2 separate regions of the Homo sapiens genome follow, and region 1 is linked to region 2. Evidence: promoter capture Hi-C in 16 types of primary human blood cells and fetal thymus (Javierre and others, 2016). All regions are on one chromosome and are shown on one strand. The core of a region is centred on a gene start or on the middle of the fragment in contact, and the rest is flanking DNA. Distances in the headings are between cores, read along the strand shown. Region 1 overlaps SLK (STE20 like kinase). Region 2 holds the start of CFAP58-DT (CFAP58 divergent transcript).

The links. Contacts are between HindIII fragments. The CHiCAGO score rates a contact against its expected background, and 5 or more counts as called.
Region 1: a contact is called between a fragment that was not itself captured here and the fragment with the promoter of CFAP58-DT in region 2, in 1 of 17 cell types (neutrophils). The highest score is 5.1, in neutrophils.

Annotation. Positions count from the first base shown.
Region 1 is chr10:103,980,794-103,986,112 of GRCh38, forward strand. The region is part of intron 1 of SLK (STE20 like kinase); the gene reads left to right. Among named protein-coding and RNA genes, the nearest start is that of SLK, 16 kb to the left of the region's middle. The HindIII fragment of the contact is 2,153 bases long and covers 981-3,133 here.
Region 2 is chr10:104,350,991-104,356,906 of GRCh38, forward strand. CFAP58-DT (CFAP58 divergent transcript) reads right to left here and starts at 2,585. Exons shown (of 2, transcript NR_108036.1): 1 at 2,128-2,585; 2 at 311-937. It overlaps CFAP58 (cilia and flagella associated protein 58), which reads left to right and starts at 2,843. Exons shown (of 18, transcript NM_001008723.2): 1 at 2,843-2,916. The coding sequence starts at 2,908. RefSeq lists enhancers at 238-297, 1,056-1,105, 1,126-1,235, 2,513-2,572. The HindIII fragment of the contact is 7,343 bases long and covers 1-3,294 here.

The sequences.
Region 1 (5,319 bases), core at 807-3,306, 370 kb before region 2:
TACAAGTATCTCTTTGAGACCCTGCTTTCAGTTTTTTAGGGTATATACCCAGGAGTGGGATTCCTGGATCTTGTAGGAATCTATTTTTAATTTTTTGGGGGAACTGCCATATTGTTTTCTGTAGCTGTACCAATTTTACATTTCCATCGATTTGTGCACAAGAGTTCTAATTTCTCCACATCTTTACCTATACTTGTTCTTTTCATTCTTTTTTAAAGTAATAGTCATCCTAGTGGGTGTAAGGTGGTACTTATATAGTTTTGACTTATATATCTCTAATATTAGTGACGTTGAGCATCTTTTCATGTGCTTATTGGCCATTTGTATATCTTCCTGGGAGAAATACCTGTTCGGCTCCTTTGCCTATTTTTGAATTGGGCTAGTTGTGGGTTTTTTTTGTTGTTGTTGTTGTTGTTGTTGAGTTTTAGGAGTTGTCTGTATATTCTGGATATTAATCCTCATCAGATACATGATTTGTAAATATTTTCTGTCACTTTATAGGTTGCCATTTTACTGTAATATTGTCTTTTAAAATGTATAACATTTTACAATTTTCATCAAGTCCAGTTCCGTGTTTTCTTTTGTTGCCTGTGCTTTAGTGTCATATCTCAGAATTCATTGTCAAGTCCAGTATCATAAAGCTTTTGCCTCATGCTGTCTTCTGAGAGTTTTATAGTTTTAGGTCTTACATTTAGGTTTTTCTTTGGTCCATTTTGAGTTAATTTTTGTTTATGGTGTTAGGTAAGGGTCCAACTTCACTGTTTCACATGTGGATATTCAGATTTCCCAGTACCATTTTTTGAAAAGACTGTCCTTTTCTCATTGACTGGTCTTGGAACCCTTGCCAAAAATCATTAGACCATATATATGCCAGTTTTTTTTTTTCTGGTCTCTATTCCATTGGTTTATATTTCAGGACTGCACTGTTTTGATTACTGTAGCTTCGTAGTAAGTTTGAAATCAGGAAGTGTGAGTCTTCAAGCTTTGTTCTTTTTCAAGATTATTTTGGCTATTCAGGGTCCATTGAGATTCCATGTGAATTTTGGGATAGGGTTTTCTATTACTGCAAAAAATGTCATTGAGATTTTGATAGGGATTGCATTGAATCTGTAGATTGCTTTGGGTAGTATTGACATTTTAACAATATTAGGCCTCCAATATATGAACATGGGATGTGTTTTTATTTATGTCTTTGATTTCTTCCAGCATTGATTTTTTAGTTTTCATTGTACAAGTCTTTCATCTCCTTGGTTAAGTTAATTCCCAAGTGTTTTATTCTCTTTGATGCTATCGTAAATGGGATTGTTTTCCTTACTATTTAAAAGTCTTTATTTTTCTTGAATTAATTTCCAGACGTGGTACATTTTTTGTCTTATTTTAAAATATATTTTTGAAATTGTCTTTTTGTGTTCTGTTTTTCATCTTTTCCAACTATGCAATCTATGCACATTTCCTCAGCTTCTTTATTACACAGTTGTGTTTGTTTCTGCATATTCATGCTGCTCAGAGTCAATAAGTCCTTGCAATAAGCAGGAAAACTGTGTGATCTGAGAATTGGTAAAACATTTTGGAAACTGCAGACTTAGCCAAATTTAACTTATTACTGACACCATTTTGTTGCTATATTTTGACTGACCAGTGACTAAATTTTGAATACCTAACCAGAACAATATAAATAAAATAGAGTTTGGGAATGTGAAGAAAATATAAGGAGAATATAAAGTATATTTCTTTCTCTTTTGCAGATTTCAGGAAATGACATAATCCTTGGAATTTCTGTAATATTTTACAGAAATTACAGAAAGAATATGTACAGTCGATCCTCATTATTTGCAGATTTTGTATTTGTGAATTTGCCTACTTGTTAAAGTTTACTTGTAGTCCTAAAATCTATACTTGCGGCACTTACTTGGTTATTTGTGTGTATGCGCAAAGCTGCAAAAAAATTTGACTCCTCTAGCAAGCACATTCCCAGCTAAACTTGAACAAGGTGACACTGCCTTGATTTCACCTCTCATGAAGAGATGACCAGAGGACGGAGACAGCAGAGGGCAGTGTAGTGAAGTGCAAGAAGGTCTGGCTGTGGGGGCCAGTTGGATAGGGTTTGAATCCCAAGTCTGACATCTGTTTTTGGGATGGCCTTCCGCAAGTCACTTAACACTTATACACCTCATTTCTCTTTTGTAAAATAAAGAAAGGAGAATCTCCCTGGATGAATTGTTTTCAGGATTTAAGAATATAATAATCTATGTGAGGGGTGTGTGTATGTGCATGGTTTTCCCTATGAACAATGTTTCAGTAGTCGCTAATTCAGTGCTTGCAGTGATTTTATAAAACATAACTACCACAAATAATGAGAATTAACTCTGTGTGTTTGCTAAATGATGATGAATGATTTTATTCTTTTTTAATATTGATACTTGTTCCTACCAAAATCTTAGCAGGACTGAAAAGATCACCATAATTTGCATGTAATTTAAAACAGATAACAGTATGAACAGTCTAAAAGTATATGCTTCCTTCAGTGCGGTTTCCTCTCTCTTCACTTAATAGCTTTTTGGAACTTTGGATATTTATTACCCAAACGTTTACTCTACTCTGTACCTTAGCTCTCCCATCTGTGTTGCTCATAGGTTTTGAAGGATTATGCCAGTTCTTAATCTCAGTTCCAAATACGCCCTTCTATGCTTTGTGATGCTGGTTCAAAGACTGCAGATCACATTTCTGCCTTGCTAGCAGCTCATTTCTGTTTCAAAAGTATAGGGCACTAGAGGGAGGCTGCAAGGAGAAGGAGGAAGAAATGACTTACACCTTTGTCTTGTTTCCTGTGAACTTCCTGTCTGCTTGTTACTTTGACCATCACCCTTGTAGAGGTTTTTTTTTTTTTTGCTCCAGCATCAGCAGTTTCTTTCTGTAGCAGCTGTTGAATACAGTTTGTAGTTTTTCCAACACTCACAGAACTAACCTCATCATAACCCTTCATAACACCAGCACCAGTTGGCTGGTACCCTGTTCCTCAAAAGTTTGGGTCGCAGTCTCACAGGACCCCTCTTCAGAGACAACAGCACCAGCTGAGCAGCACTCTGTCCTCAGAGGTCCGTCTGAGTTTCAGCTCTGTGGAACCCTTCCTCCAAGCTTCTGAATTTTAATAATTCCAATCTTTTCCCTTTGTTCCCATAGTCCTAGGGGTGGTAGCTTTTGCCTGTAGTTGTTACCTCCCTGATCCTTTGTATTATTTTTTCAGTTGGCAACAGAGTTAGTCATTGTTTTTATTAAATTTCTCTATTAAAATAATCAATGTGATTTTCCTCCTGTCTGGACCCTAACTGATACAAGGATTAAATAAGTTACTAAATGGAAAGTGCAGAGAACAGTGCCTCTTCTAATAGCACGATGGATATTACTATATACGATAACATACTTGAAATAATTTGAGATTTTTCTTACTGATTTCTTTGCAAAATACTAATATTTCCAATTTATATAGGTAAAAACATTAAAATAATCATTGAATTTTATTGATATTAATATGCTCAAATATCACCTCGGTTAGACCTAACTTAACTACCCTATTTAAGTTGTAAACTCTGGCCTGTGTGCTCTCATACCCCATTTCCTCATCTTATTTTATGTTTTTTGAGACAGAGTCTCAGTCTGTCAACCATGCTGGAGCGCAATGGTGCAATCTTGGCTCACTGCAACCTCTCCCTCCTGGGTTCAAGTGATTCTTGTGCCTGAGCCTCCTGAGTAGCTGGGATTACAGGCGTGCACCACCACACCGTGCTAATTTTTGTATTTTTTGGTAGAGACAGTATTTCGCCATTTGTCCATGCTGGTCTCGAACTCTTGGGCCCAAGTGATCTGCCCACCTCGTCCTTCCAAAGTGCTGGGATTCCAGGCATGAGCCACCGCGCTCAGCCTTCTCATCTTTCTTATTAGTTTACTTTTTCCCACAGTACTAATTGCTAATATACTGATTTATTTGTTGACTGTCCACTCCCCAAAATTGTAAGTACCCCAGCACAGAGAGATTTTGCATATTTGCACATTGTCAGCATCTAGAACAGTAACCTAACATATAGAAGGCACTCAGTAAGTATTTGTTGGAAGAATGAATGGATTTCAGCAGATCAACTCTTTTGGTCAAGATTTGACCAAGATTTTTAATAGATTTTTATGCAGTAGTTCCCCCTTATCCGAGGTTTCACTTTCCATGGTTTTATTTACCTGCAGTCTGAAAATAGGTGAGTACAGTACAGTAAGATGTATTGAGAGACATCATTCACATAATTTTTATGATAGTATATTGTTACAGTTGTTCTATTTTATTATTATTGTTGTTAGTCTCTTACCGTGCCTAATTTATAAATTAAACTTTATCATAAGTATGTATGCAAGGAAAAAACATAGTATACATAGGGTTTAGTACTATCCAAGGTTTCCAGCATCCTCTGGGGGTCTTGGGATGTATTCCCTGGGGATAGAGGGGACGGCTGTATTACGTTTCTTTTCTAGAGCACATTTCGCTGGGGTGTTGTTTGTCTTTGTGTTTTCTGCAGCTTGGACCAGTGCCTTGTAGTGGATGTTCATGAACATTTTGAGTTGTTCGTGAACAATTTGAGTTGTTTAGTTTTTACATTTTATGGTTAAATGTTCTTACACACTGGACAATTAGGCTCTTCTTCTTTTGGTGGGGGGAAGAATACCTCAGCCTTGAGATGAAATCAACCAGATTGATAGAATCAGTCCCAGTGATTATTTTTTCTTTTTATTCCTTGTTTTTTAGATTCCTTTTGTATTTATCTTACATATTTTTTGTTTGTTTGTTTGTTTGCCTTTGATTGACTAACACCTCTGTGGGACTGAAATCATCTCTGTTTTCTGTGCTGGTCTTTCAGTTTCCAGCTAAAAATTTTATTAAAATATATTCTTCACTATGAAATACTATATAATGTTAGAAAATGTAAAAATATAGAAAGAAAATAAATGAAGATTTAAAAATTATTCCTGTACTCACCACCCAGGGAATACCTTCTGTTCAAACAAGAGTAATATGAGGGTGTAATTTTTTTAGAATATGAAACCAGTATGGAACTTTCAGACAACTTATGTTTCCCAGTATCCCTCATTTGTTTATGTAATGTGGCCAAGCTCTACTGATGATTCATGAAAATAAAAACAGTGATTTTAGGTGATCATGACTGATATTTGAAATCTTTTTATCAACAGAAGTTATATTTTTAAATTAAGATTGGGATTTGTTATTCCATTTTTGTTTTTAACATTTGTTTAGTTCAGTAGTGCCCATCCTCTTTGGCA
Region 2 (5,916 bases), core at 1,335-3,834:
AGGTCTTTATTTTTGTTATATACTTTCAGAAATGTTATGGAGTTTCTCTGGATCATGGCAATCCTACAAACCGATGGTCCCAATGTGTAATCAGGTTTCCTGTGAACACACAAAGCAGCCTGAGCTGGGTTGCCTGTCCCATTTCAAGCTCATTTCTATTAGCTTGGCTTACAGTGTGGTTCAGCCTGCCTCTCCAGTTCATCTGCCACCTCTCCAGCAACCTCCATGCACATTATGACTCAGCCACATTTCCCTCTTTTTGTCCACCAGATATACAGTGTCAGGTCATGAATGAGATGTCACTGCACAGTTGCCAGTTTTCCTTGCATTTATTCATCAACCCAACACAGTTCTCATAAACTTGACAAACTTACTCTAAACATTATAAGGGAGGATAAAGGCCCGTGGATAGACAAAGCAATCTTAACACAGAAGAATTTGGAATGGGGAACTTGCCCTTCAAGCATGATGACTAACTAAAAACCCACAGTGACAAAACCTTGTGGTACTGACACATGAACAAACCAGAGAGCTCAGAACATACTCATGTCTATTTGGAAACTTCCCCAAACCAATTTGGAAAGAATGGATTGTTTGACATGGGTTGTTGGAAAATTTGCTCACCCCATGGAGAAAAATATAGTTAGATCCCTATCTCACACCATATGGGAAGGAGAACTCCAGATGGATTAGATAACTGAATGTAAAAAAGTAAAACTATGAAGCTAATGGATAGAAAAAAATGATGGGAGAATACCTTTATGACCGTGGGGTTAAGGAGGTCTAAATAATACCAAAAAACTATATAAAAAATATAGGGAAAAAAAGAGCTAAAGAGCCACAGTATCAAAGTTAAGGACTATTGTTCCCTTAAAGACATAAAGGCAGAGTTTCTAGTCTTCTAAAGCAGATTGATGTCCAGGCTTCTCAAAGATATCTGTAAATCAAAAGAAAAAGAAAAAAGATCAATAGAAAAATAGACACAGACACTGAAAAGGCAGTTCACAGAAGGGAATCTCAAGTAGCCTATGAATGTATAAAGAAATGGTCAAAAAATTCACTAGTAGTTAGAGAAGTGAAAATGAAAGCAAAAAATGAGCTTACACTACTTTCATCATATTGACAGAAATTAGAAAATTAGCTAATTAGATGAGTCAATATTTGCAAAGCACTTAGAATAGTATCTGGTATTTACTAAACACTTTATGAGTGTTTAATAAAAAAGACCTATCACCTTCTGGAAGGGATGGATGGAAGTGTTGGATGGAAACCCCACACTGGAGTGCAGCGTAGGGCAGTAACTCTGGTACACAATCTTAAAGTGCTTGGTAAGTACCCAGGGCTTGTACTAGGCTACTGGGCATCGTTGTGCTCTTGGAAAACTGTTCATCTGGCCAGATGAGTTTGAAAATATCACACCCTCTAGATAGTTACAGCCTTCTAGGTTCATGACTTGGCTGGCGTACAGAGATTTTGTGAGAATAAAAAGTGCACACCTTTCTCCAGTAGGGCACATGGCACGGGAAAGAGAGTAGAGACAGTTTTTCAGCCTCCATTGCCCCATGGCTGGATGTGTTTGTGCAGGACGCAGCTGCATAAGCAAATGTCCCTGTGCATCCCTATAACTTTAACAATCTTACTCCTTGGCATATATTTCAGAGGAATTTGCACAGAGGTCCTTAAGGGACCACGGACAAAGACGATCATGGCTGTATTACTTGATGTATTGGAGAATTAGAGGCGGCCTTGTTACCTAACACCTGGGGAATGGAAGTGAAGTGTGGTAGATGCCCCTTATGAAACGCTGTGCAGTACTCAGAAGCAATGAACTATATGCTTGCCAATCGCAACGAGGACAGATCCTTAAAAAGAATGTTGAGTGAAAAAAGTAGAAAATAAGATAATCTCCAAAGTCCAGTAGCATTATTTAAACATTTTTAAAAAATACACTGATAAAAATTTTGTACATTTCCCAAAAATACATATGGAAGCACAGCAGCATGAATGCCTATGGGGTTGAGGATAGGGGTTGGGAGTAGGGATGGGGATAAAGGGGGAAAATAAAACCAGAGAGGAGTCTTACACATTTCATGAACCAAGGAGTATAATTATTTCAACTATTTGTACCTGAAGTCCAGAAAGAGTGGAGGCAGAAGGGGGAGAAGAGGGCGAAGAAACGTTTTTGGGAGAGGGGTCCCAGAAGAGAGATTTTCGCGATGTGGCGCTACATACGTTTTTCCAGGATGCCTTAAGCTCTGCACCCTATTTTTCTCATCACTAATATTAGATTAAACCCTTTGAAGACAGCGTCTGTGGTTTCTCTACTTCAGCTTTCCCTCCGTGTCTTGCACACAGTAGCTGTTTTACAAGGGTTGAACTGACTGAAGTGAGATTATTCCTCGTTGTCTCGGAAGGCAGAGTGTAGCCGCCAGTCCTTCCCTCATCCGGAACCTTCTGGTCCACATTTCCTTCCAAGCGTTAGTCCTCGGCTCTCCATGCTTGGCTCCCTAGTGTCACACACCGTCCTTTCTGGGTGGCCTCTTCCAATTCGCCCTCTTCTTTCTCCTGGGTGTCTCCATCTGCCCACACCGTGGGACTCCTCCCAGCCTCTCAGGGGCACCGCCCCCTCACTTCCTTGGCTCCGCCCCATTGGGATATATTTGCATATTTCTCTGAGGAACCCTGCCCAGGTGCCAGCCGCAGAAGCTCCTCCCCTTTCGAATTCCCGCTAGCGCCCCTAGAGGGCGTGTCCGTTGCCAGGCGACGGGCCGACGCGCCGAGCGCGGGTTTCCGCTCGGGGCGGGCGATAGAGACAGCGCGTCGCGCCTTTAGCTTCTTTCCCAGACTCCGGCCCAGCTCCTGCGATCTCCACAGCAGCCTCTGAGGCCGCCCCCAGAGAGCATCAGGATGGCTGAGGTCAGGAGTCAGCGCCCCTCTGTCGCCTTTCCCTTGACCCCTCCCCATTGTCCCTCTCCTACTGACGATTGTCACAAACGGTGATTCCAATATTTCCCCCCATCAACATCTTATTCCCCTGCACCCTCACTCACTCCCGCGCCTTTCTCCGTTGGCTCTGGCCTCTTTACCTCCTGTTTCTCCTTCATTTGTGTGGACACCCCACTATCCCCACTGTGGCATCGGCGCTATGCTAAGTGCGGTAGAAAATTAATGAATTCTGAAATCCACACGTGACATGCACCCAGCCCTAGATTTTTAGTCATGGAGTGATACCATAAGAGAGGCTCACACAGAAATATTGGAGATGTCTTATCTCACAGGGGAAACCGGGAAGAAAGCTTCACAGATGCCTGCTGTCATCCCAATCAATGGCCCTTGTCCACCTGTCACACCCTGATTTCCTAACATGTGATCACCTGCTGTCACACAGCTTCATTAAGGCTCTTCTGCCCATCACCTCTGCCCCGTGTGTTCATTGACTCCTGTGTTAACATCTCGTATCACCCCACCACTCCCCCATATTACAGTACACCCCATTTTCAGCCTCTCCAATGAGGGGTTATTTCTGCAACCCTTCAGTGACTCCCTGCCTGCCCCTTAGCCCCCTCACGTATAACCTCAAGAGCCTCGGGTCCCTGTCATTACTTGCCATTCACAGTCCCCATCCACTATGGCCCTACCCAAATCCTTCATGGCCCCATCAGAGCCCTTCCCCCATCACCCATCCCACGGTCTGTTCCAGCCAGGACCAGCTACATGATTTGCAAGGCCTGATGCAAAGTGAAAACACAAAGTCTCTTCAAAAATTACAAATAATTTTAAGACAGAACAGCAGAGCATTCAACCAAGAATGGGGCCTTTCTGAGCAAGGGGCCCTGTGCAACTGACCAGTTTTCACTCCCATGAAGCCAGCCCAAGCCCCATCATCTTTCAGCACCATCGTGCTCCACCCCCTCCCCACCCCATTCTAGTTACTCTCTTGCTTCCTCTGCACCATTCACATCCCCTCATCATTGCTTTTCCTCCATCTCCAGTCTAGCTTTATAAATTCCGTCTTCCCGTGGTCAACACCTCCTTCCTTTCCTTATCATACGATCTCTTTCATATCATCCATCTTCCTCACGCCTGGGCTCCATCACTCACATCTCTCTCTGACATCCATGCTGCTGTGGCCACTTCACTTCTCCCCATTACCCATAGTCATTTGTATCTCTTTCTTCCCATTTCCTTTCTTGTTCCTTCTAGTTCTTTATTGTCCCATTATTGCTTTTGAGTGTTTTCTCCTCTTTTCTCCCACCAGTCATCTTTGTTTATTTCATTCTTCATTCCCCATAGGGAAGCCCCAGCCTCCCAGAGGCACCAGCCCCTCATTTCCTTGGCTCTGCCCTATTCAGGATATATTTGCATATTTCTGTGAGGAACCCTGCCCAGGTGCCGGCCTCAGAAGCTGCTCCACTATTATGGATTAGTTATTTCCATTTCCCTCTTTCTGTTACTCCTCTCGTTTCTTCCTTTCTTCTACTTTTCTTCTTACTTGACCTCAGCCAACTTTCTCGATTCTGCTTTCACAATTCTCTATTTCCCCTCTGGCCTCATCTTATATTGCAGTTCTCTTTTCCTTTTCCCTTTTCCTTCTCCCCACTAATTGATATTCCCAGAACTTAGGACAGGACAGTGCCTGGCACATAGCAAACAATCAGTGAATAGGTGAAGAATAAAGAAATGCCACAGTTCCTTTCTGATCAGTTCACGTTGATTTCATCCTTCTGAAACAGATACCATTATATGTTATAACAGTGGAAATATCAACTGTTTATTGGCCAAAGCTAAGAGATTATTTTTCCTTTGCTTTTAATGACAATAGGAACAAATCTCTTTTGTTCCTAAAAGTTTCTTTAAAACTTTTCCTTCTTTGGTATTTTTCCATTCCTGTGCTAAGTGCCAGGTAAACAGGTAAAACTTGGACTGCTAACAAATCATTAGGCTGTTGATCAAGTGTTGACGTTAATACCATTTACAGGGATGGAACCAAGAACAGTGCAGTGACAAATTTTTGTGTGTGCTTATGTTTAGCATCAACAAGGGAGAAGAACAGAACAGCAGCAACACCGTATTTCCTTAATATGGTTTTTCCTCCTTTGTGGAATTACTACATTGTGGTCTTTGCAATAATCTGCTTTTAGTCAGGAAGAAAAACCTATGTGAATTTAAAATTAGTACTAAAGTTGTTATACAAAATGCTATAGATATGCTTGTGACTCTACATTTATTTTAATTTACAAAGACTGTTTTGCTTGCATGTCATCGTTAGAGATTTAATTAATAGTACAAGTGTTTTCGAAAACCAAGAATACGTAGACTTTTTCCATATTGGGCAAGACGGGCTTGTCAAAACAGAAGGTAAACTAGACTCCTTAAAATCTTCAGGGTGAATTGAAATTTTACTTTATTATTGGGACTACAGATTGTTTCAGTTGGTTTCTTTTAGCAAGAGAGTGTTGATGCCAAGGCCCTTTGTAGAGTAGAATATTAAAACATAATGTTGCAAACGTAAGTAAGGCCTTGCAAGCCTTATGAGTCCTTTGCTCAAAAGTCTTGAGTGGTTCCCTGTGGCCTGCAGAATAATGCAATCCGTACTCCTTTGAATGTAATTCAGTGTCTTCACTGTGTGTCCCTCACTCCCTAGCTTCCTTCTGGGCCTGCTCAAATGCCAATTTTTTTCTGAGATTTTTTTTTTTATTCTTGCTGCTGGGAATAATTCTCTTTCTGTGGGTTCATAGAGAACTTTGAATACATTTTATGATAGGGATCAAATTCTATGCTTTCATTAACTGCATTCATATCCCACCAGCAATTAAGTATAAATTCCCTGTGGATAAGCTGTTTATTACTCATCTTGTGGATAAGCTGTTTATTCCCAATCCATCATAGAATTTATGTATGGCAGATGTTCAATAA